Regions from separate parts of the Homo sapiens genome. Here region 1 is linked to region 2. Evidence: promoter capture Hi-C in 16 types of primary human blood cells and fetal thymus (Javierre and others, 2016). All regions are on one chromosome and are shown on one strand. The core of a region is centred on a gene start or on the middle of the fragment in contact, and the rest is flanking DNA. Distances in the headings are between cores, read along the strand shown. Region 1 has its middle 3.7 kb from the start of OR10G7. Region 2 holds the start of OR8A1 (olfactory receptor family 8 subfamily A member 1).

Evidence for each region. The method cuts DNA at HindIII sites, captures the fragments that hold promoters and counts their contacts. A CHiCAGO score of 5 or more calls a contact.
Region 1: a fragment that was not itself captured here is called in contact with the fragment with the promoter of OR8A1 in region 2 in 1 of 17 cell types (total B cells); the score reaches 7.9 in total B cells.

The regions. Positions count from the first base shown.
Region 1 is chr11:124,042,270-124,047,820 of GRCh38, forward strand. No RefSeq gene overlaps it. Among named protein-coding and RNA genes, the nearest start is that of OR10G7, 3.7 kb to the left of the region's middle. The HindIII fragment of the contact is 4,132 bases long and covers 1-3,564 here.
Region 2 is chr11:124,568,422-124,573,604 of GRCh38, forward strand. OR8A1 (olfactory receptor family 8 subfamily A member 1) reads left to right here and starts at 1,576. Exons shown (of 1, transcript NM_001005194.2): 1 at 1,576-2,953. The coding sequence starts at 1,699. The coding sequence ends at 2,628. The HindIII fragment of the contact is 5,869 bases long and covers 191-5,183 here.

The DNA of each region.
Region 1 (5,551 bases), core at 249-2,748, 530 kb before region 2:
AATGGTTTAGGAATTACTTAGGTCTGTTGTGAGTGCTACACAACTTGTCTGTGCCTTTTTCCAGGAAGAGGAGTTCAATAGTAACATTTGCTGAGTTTTAATTTCTTTAAGAAAAAGAAAGGAATTATCCATCATTTTTGGCTGTTTCACTAAAACCCAGTGGGATTTTATGTGATAAACACGCCAGAACTTCTAAACATCATCAAGAATTCTGCATTGATAGTTCTTTGCACATGGAAAAAGGCACAGCTGAATCCACCCACACAGTCTGGTGACTTGTTGATACTCTAACAAAGACTAGAGAAGCGTAGAAGTCCAGGCATTCCTGTTTACCAACCGTATTCATCACTGGGCCTCCTCTGCCACTGAGCCATTTCTCTGTTTTTTTCACAATTACTTTTGCTATTCAAAGTCCTTTGCGGCCGGGTGCGGTGGCTCACGCCTGTAATCCCAGCACTTTGGGAGGCTGAGGCAGGCGGATCAGGAGGTCACGAGATCGAGACCATCCTGGTTAACACGGCGAAACCCCGTCTCTACTAAAAATACAAAAAATTAGCCAGGCATGGTAGTGGGCGCCTGTAGTCCCAGCTGCTTGGGAGGCTGAGGCAGGAGAATGGCGTGAACCCGGGAGATGGAGCTTGCAGTGAGCCGAGATCACGCCACTGCACTCCAGCCTGGGTAAGAACGAGACTCTGTCTCAAAAATAAAATAAAATAAAATAAAAAAGTCCTTTGCGTTTCCATATAAATTTTACACAAAAAATTGTTTATTTACACACACAAAAGCCTGCTGTGATTTTGATTGGAATTGCATTCAATCTATCAATAAATTTGGGACAATTGCTATCTTAGTAATACTGGATTATGTTTGATCACAAATACTGTTGATCTCTTTTGTTTCTCTCAACAATGTTGTGTCGTTTCAGTGCTCATATCCAGTATATTTTGTCAGGTTTATCACTAGGAATATTTTATTTTGATGCTATTTTAAATAGTACTTCTAAAATTTCAACTTCCAATTGTTCGTTGTTAATACATAGAGTTGATTGATTATTGCATATAAATCTTATATCTTACAACTCAGCTAAACTCACTTATCAGTTCCTATAGTCTTTTTAGATATTCCATCAGATTTTCTACATAGATGACCATGTCGTGTGCAAACACAGACAGTTTACTTCTCCTTTACAATCTAGATTCCTTTTAGTTCTTTTTCTTAGCTAAATGTCCTGTCTAGAAACTGTAGCTCAATGTTGAATAGAAGTGGTGGCAGTAGACATGCTAGGTTCTTGATCTTAGGGGAAAATATCTAGTTTTTTTTACTACTAAGCATGACGTCAGCTGTGGGGTTTTTTTTGTTGTGTTTGTTTTGTTTTTCTGTTTGACAAATGAGATTGGTTCCTTCTATCCCCTAGTTAGCTGAGATTTTTTTTTACCAGAAATGGCTTTTGCAATTTGTCGAGTGCATTTTCTGCATCTATTGAGACAGTCATATAGTTTTTCTTTTTCAGTTTGTTAATACGGCAAATTATGTTGCTTGAGTACTGAATATTAAACTATACTTACATTCCTGGAATCAACCTGGTTGATTATGATGCAAATCATTTTTTTCATATATATTAAATTCAATTTGGAAAATTTTATTAGGAATTTTAATATACTTGTTTATAAAGAATATAAATTGATAGCTCTTTTCCTATAATGTCTTTGTCTTGTTTTTGTATCAAGATAATACTGAAATCATCGAATGAGTTGGGACGTTTCTTGCCTATTCAATTTTCTGATAGAGTGTGTGTAAATTTTGTATTATTTATATATTTTAACTCAGAACTCTGTTCCTGAAAATCAGCAAAACTGTTGTGCTCTGCTTCAGACCCCTATCCATGCACCATGGCTCAGAATGTGCCTCCAAACAGAGTGCTCACCTCATTTGCTTTTCCTTTCTTGGGGATCACAGTCTTGTGCTACTTGTTGTTCAATGTCTGAAAATACCTGTTTTAATATATATTTTGGGGTCCAGTGTTCTATGTCTATATTGTGAGAGGAGAAATCTAATCCTTGTTATTGTATCACGGGCCAGAATTGAACATCTCCAAATTAACTATTTTTATTTTCATCATTTGCGTTGTGTTGTGAAATATAAAGTAAATAGATAAAACTTCGTACAGACACAGGCCAGATGTATTCTAAAGCAAACATTCATGTCTCCACCACCCAAATTAAAAAAGTAAGTATTGCCAGCAACCTTTGAGCCTTCACATCTCTTCCTGAAGTCAATCTCCTTCCATTCCGCTATCATGAGAATCTCAATTTCGTACTAATTTTGAGGGTATCTTTAAACAATACAGTTAAATTTTGCCTTTTAAAAACTTATGTAAGTGGAATCATAGTTATATTTAATATAGAGTTTCTATACGGTTGGGCAAAAGTAATTACGGTTTTTGCTATTGCATTTAATGGCAAAAATCGCAATCACATTTGCTCTAATGTAATATTTAAAATTATGTTTTGAAGACATGTACATATTGATATGTACAGCAATAAATTTATTCATTTAATTCATATGCATTGTTCCATTGTAAAATACACACTTGGTAGATACTTGGGTTTTCAAATTTTGGTTATAACAAAAATCCCGCCTTAAATACTCTTATACATTACCCTGGGCACATAAGCCTGAGTTTCTACATGGAAATGTTGATATTGTGAGGAAGATATCTTCCAGCTTATTTGAAAGTAATAAACCTTTTTTAAAAAGTAATTCTATAAATTTATATTCCCTTTAGAAATGTGTGAAAGTTCTTGCAATTGACAATTTTGACATTTACTTTAGGCATAATTTTAATGCAATTTTAATTTGCATTTCCCTAACTCTTAAAGTGATAGAGTAGATTTTCTTTTGTTTATTGGCCAATTGTATTTCTTCTTTTATGAAGCCTGGCCAAGTAATTTACCTACATTTATTTATATTGGATTGCTTGATTTTAATATAAATTTTAGAAATTCTTTATATATTTTGAATACCAGTCCTTGATAGTAATATTTGTTATAAGTAACATCTTTTTCACTTTTTATTTTTATTTTTTACTATTTTAATATTATTCTCAATATTAAAGTAACCAAAACGAATGATGTTTCTTTTATTTCTCTTAGTTTCTATACCTGCATCAGAAAGTTTTTCCCCAATTCAATTTGTAAAAGCCGTATTATTTGTTATAAAAATTTGAGTTTATAATGGCCCTGGAATTGATTTTGTGTATAGTATGTGGTAAGAGATTAATCTGATTTGTTCCATGTTGATTCAGTTGTCCAAGCATAATTTATTGGAAAAATACATTTACCATAATCTTCCATGCCAGCTTTGACTTAAATCAAATATGCAAGGGGTGTGTTTTTATGCTGTCTATTCTATTCCATTTTTAAATTAATCTGGTCCTAAACCAACCTCACTTTTTTTAGTTGCTATAAAGAAAAATAATAAATACAAATTTGTAAATATGTTTAGCTTTAAGAATAACCAAAAATGAAGATTAAAGATAGTTGGTTGAAAACTGCTTATGGTAAAAGCTTTAAAACTTTTAAGTAATTAAATAATAACACTGGTAAAGTTGGCTCTTGCAAGCACTGGTGCTAACAAAGTAAACAATTTAATAATAATCTTCAAAACCATAATATTCATTAATTTTATAGGATTTCTACTTAGGTTTACTTATCTTTAGTAAAGTCTCAAATATGGATAACTACATGGGTTAATAAGATTATCATAGTGCATTATACATGCACTTATGTCTACCTATTTTTCTAACAGTACTTTTTTATTTGGGAAAATATTAAAAAACTGTTAAAAAATTAAATATCCATAAAAATGAATATGTTTGAGTAAAGTGGCCATAGGGAATGTAAGTTAACATTATGGAAAACAGTGTGGGGATTTCTCTAAAAACTAAAAATAGAACTTTCATGCAGCCCAACAATTTCACTATTGGGTATTTATACAAAGGAAAGCAAGTCAGTATATCAAAGGTGCAGTACACATGCACCTCCATGGTATATATACACAATGGAATACTATTCAGCCACTAAAAAGAGTGAAATACTGTCATTTGCAGCAACATGGATGAACCTGGAGGATGCTATGTTATGTGAAATAAGTCAGGCACAGATATATGAATACTGCATGTTCTCACTCATATGTGGGAGCTAAATTTTTTTTTTGAGCTCATGAAAGTAAAGAGTAGAACTGTGGGTATTAGAGGCTGGAAAGAATAGATGGGGAAAATGGAAAGAGGTTGGTCAACGAATACACAATTACAGCTGAATAGGAGGAATTAGTTCTGGTGTTCTGGAGCACTGTAAGGTGAACATAGTTACCTATAATTTATTGTATATTTTGAAAAAGCCAGAAGAAAGATTTTTGGATGGTCACAACACAGAGACATGGTAAGTGTGTGGGGGATAGATACACTAAGTACTCTGAATTGATCATTGCACATTGTATACATGTATTGAAGTACCACTCTGTATCTCATAAATATGTACAATTTTTATGTGTCAACTAATAAAAGGAAAACAAAAAAGATGGTTGTAATAATTGAGTAATATGGAAAATATTTTGATAAAATTGTAAACCAAAAATAAACTAAACAAAAAGATGCAAAGCTACATATATAGCATAATTGGAACTAGTTAAAAATATTCCTTATCAGTATAAAAACATTGATAATATTAAAACAGAGAAAGTGTGTGGGTTTTTTTGCCCCTTTGAATATTTACCAAGTAGTTTATAAACTTGTGATGCCACTTTCATAGTGAATATGTCATGTCTTATGAAATAAAGAGGTAGGGAATAGAAAGGGCATGAGAAAAGAGAGGAAAGCCTCTAATTATTCCCTTTGCCCTTTCATGCTTTTAAAGCCTGGGGATTAGGCCACTGGGAATATTGCCTGTAAGGAAACCAGGTCCATTTATACTTTCAAGTTTGAAAACTTATAAATTCAGAATTTCAGGTCCATTCTAATAGCAGGACTGAGTGTGGCATCTATGTGTCTTGTAATCCAGAGGAGAGGGTGCAATATCTTGGCTGTATGCCATGGCATCTTATGTAAAACAGAGTTTTGGCTTTAGGAACACATTCTTCTTGCCTGGAAACTTGAGAAAAATCTTGCTACCCGTATTCAAAGTGCTTCCCATCAGTTGGTATGTGCCTAAAACTTTGCCGCTTCTGTTTAAATACTTTTTAAGTTTTTAATTTTTGTGGGTACTTAGTAGGTGTACATATTTATGAGGTGAAGGAGATGTTTTGATACAAGCATTCAATAAGTCATAATCAGATCAGGGTAAATGGGGTATCCATCACCTCAAGCATTTATCATTTGTGTTACAAACAACCGAATTATACTCTTTTAGTTATTTTTAAATGTACATCTCTTGTTCTACACATATTTCTCTCTTTCCTCTTCTCTTCTTCTTTCCTAGTTTTTCACAGTGTTAAATTTTTAAAATTCTTCCATTTATTTCAATAGTTTTGGGGGGTATATGTGGTCTTTGGTTAC
Region 2 (5,183 bases), core at 326-2,825:
AAAACAAAACAATTTAGTTTAGTGGAGACAAAACACACTGGTGGTCAGAAGTCCTGGGTTTTAGGCCCAGTTTTGCCTCTTACTAGCTGGGTTTCCTTGGGTGACTTATTTAACTTTTAGAGCTTCAATTTCCTAGACAACGAAACAAAATACAGCATTTTTCCTATGCTATGCATATACTAAGATATCAAGCTTAAACCTATTTTAATCATACATTGCTAAGAGCTGTGAGTGTGCAGATTTACAAGGCTGCACATGTGAGGCAAAAGAGGAAACTCATGATCAGGACAGAGCCGAGGTAAGTTTGAGTTCCAAGTCACCAATAATTAGTAAACCTTGGGCAAATCACTTAGTGTCTGGCACCTCAGTTTTCTCAATACAAACATGAAAATAAAAATCCTTCCCTAAACACATTTCTCCCCATTTCCGAAAACTTCAGAAGTTAATGAGATCGACCTTTGAAAGAAATGTGTAAGCTGTAAAGCATTATGCAAAAGTTAGTAATTACATAAGGAAGCAATTAAAATAGGGGTAATATGTTTTATAGCTTAAGAAATACATCCCACAGATAAGACTGTCTATACATATTGTATCCAGCAATGATTATTCATGCTTCCTGGAGATATGCCTGTAATTTGAATACTTTGTCATCAGGGATGTAATAGGACAAAGGTTTGATATTATGATCTGAAAATAATAATAATAATAATTAGCTATTTAGCACTTAGTATGGAACATTCAATGGGCCAGTGCTCATGTTGCACCACAGATCAATTAAATCAGAACATCTACGGGTAGAACCCAGGTATCAATCCTTTGTAAATGCCCCGTGTGATTATAATGTATAGCCAATGCTGAGAACCACTGCCTTAGGACCTCAGGTCAAGTAAGAAATTAAGAACAAATTCCAGACTCTTAATGACAATTCACATTTTTTATAGGCACTGAGTATTTGAAAAAAGATTTCTAAATATGCATTATCCTGTGTTATTTTTACAACCACCTTTGGAATCAATATTAATTTCTTCATCTTTCAGACATAGAAATTGATGTGTCAGCCAATGACACAGCTTGTAACTACCCTATCACCCTGACACTGCGTAAATTTCAGATAGGTATTTACATGTTCACATTCAGTGAATATTTAGGAATTATATACATGACAAAGGAAGTTTATTTCTAAAGCAAAATCCATCCCCAACTACAAAATATGAAATATACTACTTATCTACAATGTAGAGATTCTCAAACTTTACTATGCAACACCATCACCAGAAAGATTGTTAATACATAGATTGCTGGGCCCCATATCCAGAGTTTCTGATTAATTAGGTGTGAGCTGAGGCCTGAGAATTTGCATCTCTAAAAAACTCCAGGTAATGTCAGTGCTGCTGGTCCAGGGACTACCCTTTGAGAAACACTGCCCCAGGATGCTTTAGAAAAATGTGCATGGTAAAAGATCCAGACCTTGGCCTGCTTTCCTCCCATCTTCATGATCCCTGAAACACTCACGCTGGTCTTCCTGCAAAGAAGACCAGCAAATAGCAGGACGAGGGGAGGAGGGCGGGGAGGATGCATCAGCAGAGAGCCCAGGATGTTTCACTAGCACCAAAGGCTCAAGACTAGCCGTCCAAGATTAGCCTTTTAATGGGGTTCTTGTCTCCCATGCATCCCTGCAGGCCTCCCACCCAGAGGAGAATGGCTGCAGGAAATCACTCTACAGTGACAGAGTTCATTCTCAAGGGTTTAACGAAGAGAGCAGACCTCCAGCTCCCCCTCTTTCTCCTCTTCCTCGGGATCTACTTGGTCACCATCGTGGGGAACCTGGGCATGATCACTCTAATTTGTCTGAACTCTCAGCTGCACACCCCCATGTACTACTTTCTCAGCAATCTGTCACTCATGGATCTCTGCTACTCCTCCGTCATTACCCCTAAGATGCTGGTGAACTTTGTGTCAGAGAAAAACATCATCTCCTACGCAGGGTGCATGTCACAGCTCTACTTCTTCCTTGTTTTTGTCATTGCTGAGTGTTACATGCTGACAGTGATGGCCTACGACCGCTATGTTGCCATCTGCCACCCTTTGCTTTACAACATCATTATGTCTCATCACACCTGCCTGCTGCTGGTGGCTGTGGTCTACGCCATCGGACTCATTGGCTCCACAATAGAAACTGGCCTCATGTTAAAACTGCCCTATTGTGAGCACCTCATCAGTCACTACTTCTGTGACATCCTCCCTCTCATGAAGCTGTCCTGCTCTAGCACCTATGATGTTGAGATGACAGTCTTCTTTTCGGCTGGATTCAACATCATAGTCACGAGCTTAACAGTTCTTGTTTCTTACACCTTCATTCTCTCCAGCATCCTCGGCATCAGCACCACAGAGGGGAGATCCAAAGCCTTCAGCACCTGCAGCTCCCACCTTGCAGCCGTGGGAATGTTCTATGGATCAACTGCATTCATGTACTTAAAACCCTCCACAATCAGTTCCTTGACCCAGGAGAATGTGGCCTCTGTGTTCTACACCACGGTAATCCCCATGTTGAATCCCCTAATCTACAGCCTGAGGAACAAGGAAGTAAAGGCTGCCGTGCAGAAAACGCTGAGGGGTAAACTGTTTTGATGCAAATGTTATTGTTCCTTTTCAATTTAGTGGTAATTGTTATAAATACCAGAGTGACAGCTTCTGAATGCTGGCCAGCTGTGGATGGAAAATAATCACTTCTCCACATGGCTGGGTGAATGGGCATTTTTCCTTCTTTCCTCTTCCTTCCCTCTTCCTTTCCTCTTCCTTCCTCTTCCTTCCTTCCTCTTCTTTCCTCTTCCTTCCCTCCCTCTTTTTTCACTTCTCTTTGAAGCCAGCCAACTTCAGGTTCAGGTTTTCTTTCACTTGAGATCCATCCCTCTACCCCAAGCCCTTTAATAAATGTTTCCTATCTTAATTGTAATTTAACTTAAATGCTAAACTTTCAACATTGAGTTTTAGGGTCATTCATGGTCTTATTATCTTCTATATAGAAAATATTACTCAGCCCAATTTTTTTCTTTTTTTTTTTCTTTTTGGTGACAGAGTCTCACTCCAGCCCAGGCTGGAGTACAGTGGCACGATCTCGGCTCACTGCAACCTCCGCCTCCCAGGTTCAAGTGATTCTCCTGCCTTAGCCTCCCGAGTAGCTGGGATTATAGGCATCTGCCACCATGCCCAGCTAATTTTTGTATTTTTAGTAGAGACGGGGTTTCACCATGTTTGCCAGGCTGGTCTTGAACTCCTGACCTCAAGTGAGCCACCTGCCTTGGCCTCCCAAAGTGCTGGAATTACAGGTGTGAGGCACTGCGCCTGGCCAATTTTTTTTCTTTTTGTACTTGGGAACAAATGAGGCAAAGAGAGGCAAAGTATCTCTACTTACCCCTGCCCAAGAATTTCCTGATCTCTTTATGTAATTTTCTTAGTAACACTAATAATAATGATAACAGCAGCTAACATGTTTTTGGATGCTGACTCTGATCCATGCAATTCTTCTACGTGCTTTCTATTCTATTTCAATTATACTACACAACAAGTAGGTACTATTCTATTCTCATTTCACAGATATGGAACTTGGAGCAGGAGTAACAACACTGAGATTCAAACCCCAGTCCAAGTGGCTTCCAGAGCCCAGACTCTGGGCACTCACACATTACTTCCTTCACTTTAGTCTAGCCGTCCCTTTGAACAGCCTATTAAACCTCCCATAATTATGCTCATCCAATTTCAAATTGGATGAAAATAATTTCTTCTGAAAATAATTTCTCAAATCCCTTCCTTTTATCATCTGCCCAAACCTCTTTCTCTTTATGGGCAACAACTATAATAGGATGGGAAAAGATGCCTAACTAGCATATATAATAATAAACCCTAGCAAACCAGCAAGAAAAAGACATCAACTTTAGCAAGAAAAAAAATGAGCAAGGTATATAGAACAATTTACAAAAGAGAAAACCTGAAGTACCACAGAGCATGTGAAGAGATGCTCAAACCGATTACTAAACATAGAAGCGCAAATTAAAACAGTGATATATCTTTTTACGTTTATAAGATTAGCACAAATTTTAAAAGCTGGATGGTGCTAAGTGTTAGTAAGGAGGTAGGGATTTAGGAACCCCCATATACTACAGCTATTCTGGAAAACAGTAAGACATTACTTAGGAAAAATAAGTATAGGTATCCACAGGGCATAGCAAATCTGGTCCAAGGTATATATAGTCCCAAATCATTCTCTTTCAGGCCTATAAGATGGCATGTACAAAGGCATTCATTATACCATTATTTTTGGCGATGGGAACTTAGAGATAAAATAAGTGTCCACCATTGGGAAAGTAAGTAGATAAATTGTATCTACTTACTTACAATTTATAGACTCTTCAACAGTTAGAAGCAAAGGATTAGCTATACACAATATAGTTTAGAGGTATAGTGCTGTGTGAGAAAAGTAAGAAAGATAATGAGATATAAAACATATTATTTATGTATATTAAAATTGCATGTGCACACACCCCAAAAAAAGCACACTTAGAAAGAAAAAAGACCATAACGTAAAATACACATTAGGCAGGTCAGAATGGCTGCTGAGAGAGATAAGATGCACGAAAGAAGGGAGTAGAAAAAAGATGAAGCAGAAAACCAAGAAAGACCACATTCTGGACCATAAAACACACCTTAACTGATTTAAAGAAATAGAAATCATACAATGTCTGCTGTCTGCTCTCAGACCACAATGAAATTAAACGAGAAATCAATAACAGAAAGATAACTGAAAAATCATTAAATATTTTGAAATTAAACAACACATTTCTAAATAGCACATGAGTCAAAGAAGAAAATCTCAAGAGAAATTTTAAAATATTTTGAATGAAACGAAAATGAAAATGCAACTAATCAAAACTTGTGGGATGCAGCAAAAGCAGAGTTTAGAGGGAAGTTTACAGCATTGAATGTTTACAGCACTGAATGTTTACAGCATTGAATGTTTACAGCATTGAATGCCTTCGCAAAGAAAACGATCTAAAATCAATCACCTAGACTTCCAACTTAAGAAACTAGGTTGGAGAATGGCAAATTAAATCCAAAGTTAGCAGAAGAAAACAAAAAAAATTAGAGAAAAATCAATAATATTTAAAACAGAAAATCAACGGAGGAAA